Linked DNA regions of Homo sapiens: region 1 is linked to region 2. The links are contacts of gene promoters, found by promoter capture Hi-C in blood cells and fetal thymus (Javierre and others, 2016). All regions are on one chromosome and are shown on one strand. Each heading gives the region's core, a stretch centred on a gene start or on the middle of the fragment in contact. The rest is flanking DNA. Distances are from core to core; before and after follow the strand shown. Region 1 overlaps UBE2R2 (ubiquitin conjugating enzyme E2 R2). Region 2 holds the start of UBE2R2 (ubiquitin conjugating enzyme E2 R2).

Region 1 (3,991 bases), core at 942-3,441, 43 kb before region 2:
GGCGGCTAACATAACGAAAGAAGTTCTGGATATGAGGTGTGTATGACAACCGAATGGGGTTAAACTACCAGATATGAAGGAGCAAAAGTCTAGGTTATAATGATGGCAAAGGCAAAAGAGAATAAGGAAGACATCGAAATCACTAACTTTTGGTTGTTTATCATACCAAATGATAAGCAATAAAGTTTTATTACCAACTATGAAAGTGGATCAACAGGCCGGGCACGGTGGCTCATGCCTGTAATTCCAGCACTTTGGGAGGCCGAGGCAGGTGAATCATGAGGTCAGGCGTTCGAGATCAGCCTGGCCAACATAGTGAAACCCTGTCTCTACTAAAAATAAAAAAAACTAGTCAGGCATGGTGGCAGGCGCCTATAATCCCAGCTACATGGGAGGCTGAGGCAGGAGAATCACTTGAACCTGGAAGGCAGAGGTTGCACTGAGCCAAGATCGTGCCACTGCACTCCAGCCCGGGCGACAGTGTGAGACTCCGTCTTAAAAAAAAAAAAAAAAAAAAAAAAGAAAGTGGATCAACAAATGGTATCTCTGGGGACAGTCATTTGGAAAAGAAACAACAGACTGAAAAGATTTAAAACACTTTCATCAATCCATATTTTACTCCATCAAAAAACATTCAAGTTTACCTTAAATATGTTACTGCTTTTGAAAAAGTACACAAAATAAACCCTTTAAAATTAAAATTGCAGAAGACTGTCAGATACTGTTGTTTCCCATTATCTAATTAATGAAGACTAGCTTGTTCAAACTTTTTTTTTTGAGACAGGGTCTCACTCTGTCGCCTAGGCTAGAGTGCAGTGGCATGATCTCAGCTCACTGCAACCTCCACCTACTGCAACCTCCACCTCCCAGGTTCAAGAGATTCGTGTGCCTCAGCCTCATAAGTAGCTGGGATTATAGGCTATGCGTGGCTAACTTTTGTATTTTTGTATTTTCTATTTTTTGTAGAGATGGGGTTTGTAGAGATGTCGGCCAGGCTAGTCTCAAACTCCTGACCTCGGGCAATCTGCCCGCCTCGGCCTCCCAAAGTGCTGTGATTAGAGGCATGAGCCACCAACCCCGGCCTGCTTTTTAAAACTTAACACAAGGTTGGCCAGGCGCAGTGGCTCACGCCTGTAATCCCAGCACTTTGGGAGGCCGAGGCGGGCGGATCATGAGGTCAGGAGATCGAGACCATCCTGGCTAACACAGTGAAACCCCCTATCTACTAAAAAAATAGAAAAAATTGGCCGGGCGTGGTGGCGGGCGCCTGTAGTCCCAGGTACTCTGGAGGCTGAGGCAGGAGAATGGCGTGAACCCAGGAGGCGGAGCTTGCAGTGAGCCGAGATCGCGCCACTGCACTCCAGCCTGGGGGACAGAGCGAGACTCCGTCTCAAAAAAAAAAACAAAAAACAAACAAACAAACAAAAAAAAACTTAACACAGGGTTAACGATTGTGGGGAGGGGGTGGGGAGGGTGGGGTGTCTCAGTCTGTCACCTAGTCTGGAGTACAGTGGCATGATCATAGTTCACTGCAGCCTTAAACTCCTGGGCTCAAGAGATCATCCCACCTCAGCCTTCCAAGTAGCTAGGGCTACAGGCCACCACACCCACAATATTTATTTAATTTTTTTGTAGAGATGGGATCTCACTATGTTGCCCAGGCTGGCTTCAAACTCCTATACTCAAGTGATCTTCCTGCCTCAGCCTCCCAAAATTGGTGGGATTACAGGTGTGAACCAACATGCCAGGCCTTGAGTTAACTCATATTCTATTTTACCACACCACCCCTAGAAAGAAGAAAATTCAAACAAATAAAACAAATAAAGTCAAACAAAAAATGAAAATCTGATGTCATACAACCATGAATCTGTGAAAATTCTGATTTCAAGCACACAAGAATTCAAAGAATGAACAAAGGAAAAGGTATTGACAGCAATGTTTTTACACAGCCAAAGAGTGGTAGGGCGTAGTAACAGGTCACTACCACAGGATGCTGGAGTCTCTTCCAAAAATGTATCTGCCACTTATAACCTAATTAATGACAGAAAATGTCAGGGGAAAGCAACTAGGAATCAGAGGAAAGGGGATGGTAATAAAAACATAAACTTACACAAAAGGCTAAAATGTCAGGAGGAAAAGAGGCTTGTGTATCAATATTTTGCCTGTCAGGAAGGTTTTCTTCCCAATCAAAAGAACTTCCTTTTACATAATTACTTGAGAAACGTGCCCTCCTAAAATGCTATTTTTTTAAAAAAAAAAAAAGGGCAGGCAAGGTGGCTCACACCTGTAATCTCAGCACATTGGGAGGCCAAGGCAGGAGAACTGCTTGAGGCCAGGAGTTCAAGACCAATCCGGGCAACACAGGGAGACCTTGTCTTTATAAAAATTTTAAAAATTAGCTGGACATGGTGGTTCATGCCTGTGGTCTCAGCTACTTGGGAAGGTGAGGTAGAAAGATTGCTTGAGCCCAGGAGGTTGAAGCTGTAGTGAGCCCTGATTGCACCACTGCCACTGCACTCCAGCCTGGTCATAGAGAGAGATCCTGTCTCTCTCTCTCTCTCTCTCTCTCACACACACACACACACACACACACACACACACACACACAAAAGGCTTAGATAACCACAAGGACTGTATGTTAAACATTAAACCTACATTTAAATAACCAAATCATATTTTCTTGAATCCAAAATTATTCTGAAAAACAAAACAAAGAAATTTAAAGTCTCAAGGCTCCTAACGTCACAACAATGCTTCTGTAAAAATTTTCAGCTATTTAGGGGGGAAATACTAGTTCTAGTAAGTTTTCCAAAATAAAGATGTAATGAAAAATAGTATCTCAGAGTCCATCCCAGTCTTAAGATTTTAATACTCTACATAAACCATTCTTGTAGGCATTTTGAAAATATGACCTACTATGTTAAAACAGGGATATTCTCAAGGATCTAAAACTATCAGGCAGGTTAGGGATTCCAAACTAAACTTGGGCAATGAGCCTAAGCAAATTTCAATATAAACTATGCTTCCCAGCTTAGCTTAGTTTTCATAAATTTCTGAATATGTCAGCTTTGAGCAGATATCAGAGTATTTTTAATCTATCAAAGATAAAATACACAGAGTATAGTAACAATTACATTTTGAAAACAAAAATTTTATAAAGGTTTAATGATTTCAAAGTATATGCATTACTGCTCAGAAACCACAATTCATAGCATATATTTTTTAATATTAAAATGAACTCTTCCGGCCGGACATGGTGGCTCATGTCTGTAATCCCAGCACTTTGGGTGGCCAAGGTGGGTGGATCATGAGGTCAGGAGTTCAAGACCAGCCTGGCCAACATGGTGAAACCCTGTCTCTACTAAAAATACAAAAATTAGCCGGGTGTGGTGGCAGGCACCTGTAATCCCAGCTACTTGGGAGGCTGAGGCAGGAGAACTGCTTGAACCCAGGGGAGCAGAAGTTGCAGTGAGCTGAGATTGCGCCACTGCACTCCACCCTGGGCAACAGAGTGAGGCTCCATCTCAAACAAAACAAAACAAAACAAAACAAAACAAACTCCTCCATAAACTGAAATGTAAAGAGAATACACTATTACCTGGCATAGTCCTAGAGTAGAATGCAATGATTTAGCACTGACTCTAATTAAAATATTTAATATTGGCCTGGCAACGGTGACTCATGCCTGTAATCCCAGAACCCTGGGAGGCTGGGGTGGGTGGAGTGCTTGAGCTCTATCAGGAGTTCAAGACCAGCCTGGGCAACATGGCAAAACCCTATCTCTAGCAAAATACAAAAAGCCAGGTGTGGTGGTGCATCCCAGCTACTTAGTGGGTTGAGACAGGAAGACTGCTTGAGCCTGGGAGGTCGTAGCTGTGGCTAGCCAAGATCATGCCACTGCATTCCAGCATGGCTGACAAAGTGAGACACCGTCTGAGGAAAAAAAAAATTAACATCTATACTCTATTATAGATTACAAATATTCAAAGAA
Region 2 (3,882 bases), core at 1,017-3,516:
GTACCGCACTTACATAATATTCTAAAAACGTGCTTTTCCTAGGTACTCAGTGACTATATACAGTAGTGAATATTAAACATTCCTGTATCAATCCCATTTCCTACAAAGTTGACCTAATTTCAAGCATAAAACTGAGGTTTCCACCTTTAGAAGGGTAGAAAACAAGAGTTAAGTAATTGGGTAGTCCTAAAAATACACATCACAACTACATGACTAAGATACTCATTTAAAACTTGTGCCAAGATAACCCCTCCCTTCCAAACTAAAATTGACTCACTGGCCTATTTTACTTAATTTTGAAAATAAAAAAATAAAACTAAATGGATTCCTAAGCACTCATTTCCTCTCTCTGCCCCCATCATTTAAAATATTCAGACTTTCAATCTGTGATTCCTCCCTGCAAAAACACTCAAGTAAAAACAAAACAAAACAAACACTCATTATCTCCAAGTTAACTACCTTGGAGTTAAAAAAAAATCATTAGATTCTGGAATGATAACCACTGTTCTAAGACCATATAAAACAACAGAAACAATGTCTGTGGTCGCTAAGGAACCATACATCCCACCCAGAGAAACGATCTCGCCTCAGATGATACTTGTCATCTGTGAGACCACCCCTTTAGCTAGAGTTAACCACTTGAGCAGGTTTCAATTTTGTCTCTGAAAGTAGGAAGCTATCAGTCTCCCTACATGACTCGTTCCACCCTTTGTGGATACTTCTACCTGTAGAAAAAAAGGTTGGCAAACTTGGTGGCATGGTGAGGACAAAGGGCATTTTGAAAGAACCAGTGACTGAGGTAAGCAGAGAATGTGAACGGAAAGAGGGTTAAAGTTCCCCCAAATGGATAATGACAAGACGACGCGGGCACCCTTTTTTTTTTTTTTTTTTTTTTTACCACCCCTAGGGTCCCATTCTTCACCACCACCCATTGGAATGCAAAGTTGGCACTACCACTACCCAAGATGCCCAACAAATCCTCAAAATGTCAGGGCACTCGGCAGCTTCTGAAATGACAAGCTGGTGCCCCTCCCCCACCCCACCCCCACCCCCACCCCCCAAAAAAGAAAAGTCCAATCCAGTCGGTGCAGGTCACCCTGCCCTCTGGGGCAGTTCCAGCCTGCGCAGGGAGGGGTTCCGACCGGAGAACGAAAAAGCACAGATAGACCACCGCTCTTTCCACCCACCCTCAGCGGGGGAAACAAAGGCGGCCTCCTCCGCCCGTAGACACTACCCTAACCAGAGAGGCTCTCCGATTTCCCGGTGCAGCCTGCCCTCCCGCCCCCGCCCGAGCCCCCGCCCCCATGACAAAGAAAAGGCACTCGGCGAGCAAGGCCTTCCTGCCTCCAGGGATGGGGGAGGGGGCTGCACGGGTGAGAAGCCCCCTCCACTCGCCCGTGCTCATACTCCTGGTCCCAGGAACTGCAGAAAGCGGCGGGGAGCCGGAGGCCTCGGCCGCGGAAGCAGGGTCCGGGAGGAGGGTGAGGGTACCTTGAAGTAGCCGCCTTCGTAGAGGGTGTTGGGGGGTCCGAAGATGGCCACCTCCCAGTTGTAGAGGTCGGACTCGTCCACCAGGGTGATCCGGAAGCCCTCCACCGGTTCCTCCTGCAGGGATTTCAGCTCGAGCATCAGGGCCTTCTGCGAGCTGGTCATCTGCTGCTGGGCCATCGCGGCGGCGGCGGCGGCGGCGGCGCCGGGCCCGGGCCCCAGTCCTCACGCACCGGCCGGGCCGGACCAGGCCCCTCCCCTCCGCTCGCCCTCCGGCCGGGCAGCACCGGGCCCCGGTCTTCACACACCCGGCGGGCCAGACCAGGCCCCACACGGCCCGTGGGCCCGCCCGGGGTCCTCCTCACACACGACGCAGGCCGGGCCGGGCCCTTCTCCTCACACTCGGGCCGGGCGAGAGGAGAGGTCGAGGGAGTTAGGAGAATTCGCTACGGGTCCCGGTCCCGGGCCTCCCCCCCCCGGAGGGGGCCTCAACTTGGGGGGGGGGAGAGGAGGTGGAAGCGGAGGAAGGCGGCGGAGGGCCGGCGATGGTGAAGGGAGGGGGCCGGGCCGGCCCGGGAACGCCGCGCTCGCTCGCCCTCTCGTTCTCTTCGGGGGCCGCAGGGGCCGGAGGGCGCGCGGGGCAGGAGAGGGTGGGGGGAGAGCGGCGTGCGGGGGTCTCGCGGCGGTGGCGGCGGGGGCTGCGCGGGGGGAGGGGCGACGGCGGAGGAGGAGGAGAGCGAGAGCGCCTCGCGCCGCGGGAGCAACGGAGCCGAGAAGCAGGGAGGGAGGGAGGGAGGGAGAGAGGGAGGAGGGGCGCACGCCGGGTGCTGGGCGGCTCTCAGCGGCTGGCGGCCCGACGCGCGTGCGCGTGCCCCTCCCTCCCCTCCCCCCACCGTGCCTGGCTCTCCTCCACTACCACCTCCTCCTCCTCCCGTTTCCACGCCTCCTCTCGGTCTCCCGCGCGGTCGCGGCGCTTTGTGACGCTGGCGCGTGTCCCCCGCCCATAAAGATCCCAGAAGCAGCGGGGACCAAGGGCGGGCGCAGGGATTGCCGTGGCCCCAGAGTGACGGTTGTGCGGCTGGACGCCGCAGTTCCAAAGGCGTGCCCGGGAAGGGAACCCAGGTCTCCCGGCTCTCGGGGCCCTCCCCACTGTGGATCCAGGGGCCTCCGCAGCCATCCTGGGACGGGCCTGGTCGCTGCAGGCCCCTCCCCGTGACACCCAGTCTGCGGTCCCTCCACTTAGTAGCTACTTGATTAGGATGTGCTGACAATGTGGGTCTTTTCGGTGGGAACAGACCTTCCCGCAGGCCAGCCCACAGGCAAGTGTGCCCTTTGGCACGTTACTCACCCTGGGTGCGGCAGTTCCACGTGAGAAACGGGGTGAGACAAAAAGGTCAGCTTCTGCTTCCCTTCTTAACTACAAAGAGGAAGTTGTGAGGAAAAAGACAATAACAAACTGGGTCTCTAGCCCTTCTCATTGTGATTTGGGGCAAGTGCTCAGGCTGCCCTTCGCCTTCGCCATTTGTAAAATAAACTACTGTGGTTGAACTTAGGGGTCAAAGTTCCCTATAGGTGCTTGTGGCTTGAATGTCCACCCTGGAACTGAGGGACTTTCGAGATAATCATAACCGAAGTGAGATGTGGGGACAGTCTTTGGTCCCCCCGTGGTTCAGAATACAGTACTCCTTTCTCCTAGGAAGGCATGTCCTAGGATAACTGCCTAAAAAACATTTCCTAGAAAAGCCAGAATATTGTGAGAGTTCTACACACACAGTTTCGGAACTAGACAGATCTTGGTTCCAACCCTAGTTCCATTACTTCTCCCTGTATCATCAGTTTTTTGTTTTTTGGTTTTGTTTTGTTTGAGACAGGGTCTTGCTCTGTCACCCAGGCTGTAGCACAGTGGCGCGATCATGGCCCACTGCAACCTCCGCCTCCCAGGTTCAAGCGATTCTCCCACCTCAGCCTCCCAAGTAGCTAGGACTACAGGTGCATGCCTCCACACCCGGCTGTTTAATCAGCTTCTGTAAAAGGGGATTAATTATACCCAACACAAGCAATTGTAATGATTAAATGTATGTACAGCATTTAGCGTAGTGACTGGCACATGGTTAATGATTCATAGAAACTTGAAAGAAAAAAACTTTAAGGCATAGCTGTATTCTGGATACCACCACTACCCACCCCTTTTATTGAGACAGGGTCTTACTCTGTTGCCCAGGCTGGAGTACAGTAGAGTGATTATAGCTCACTCTAGCAGTAACCTCCTGGGCTTAAGCCATCCTCTAACCTCAGTCTCCCAAGTAGCAGGACCACAGGTGTGCACAGCCATGCCCAGCTAATTTTTGTATTTTTAGTAGAGACGGGATTTCACCATGTTGGCGAGGCTGGTCT

What was found. The method cuts DNA at HindIII sites, captures the fragments that hold promoters and counts their contacts. A CHiCAGO score of 5 or more calls a contact.
Region 1: a fragment that was not itself captured here is called in contact with the fragment with the promoter of UBE2R2 in region 2 in 5 of 17 cell types (monocytes, M2 macrophages, total B cells and 2 more); the score reaches 8.1 in monocytes.

The regions. Positions count from the first base shown.
Region 1 is chr9:33,858,378-33,862,368 of GRCh38, reverse strand. The region is part of intron 1 of UBE2R2 (ubiquitin conjugating enzyme E2 R2); the gene reads right to left. Among named protein-coding and RNA genes, the nearest start is that of UBE2R2-AS1, 42 kb to the right of the region's middle. The HindIII fragment of the contact is 4,579 bases long and covers 1-3,991 here.
Region 2 is chr9:33,815,544-33,819,425 of GRCh38, reverse strand. It overlaps UBE2R2 (ubiquitin conjugating enzyme E2 R2), which reads right to left and starts at 2,266. Exons shown (of 5, transcript NM_017811.4): 1 at 1,492-2,266. The coding sequence starts at 1,668. UBE2R2-AS1 (UBE2R2 antisense RNA 1) reads left to right here and starts at 558. Exons shown (of 5, transcript NR_170204.1): 1 at 558-799. RefSeq lists silencers at 1,647-1,816, 1,887-2,096, 2,277-2,376 and an enhancer at 2,667-2,756. The HindIII fragment of the contact is 11,190 bases long and covers 1-3,882 here.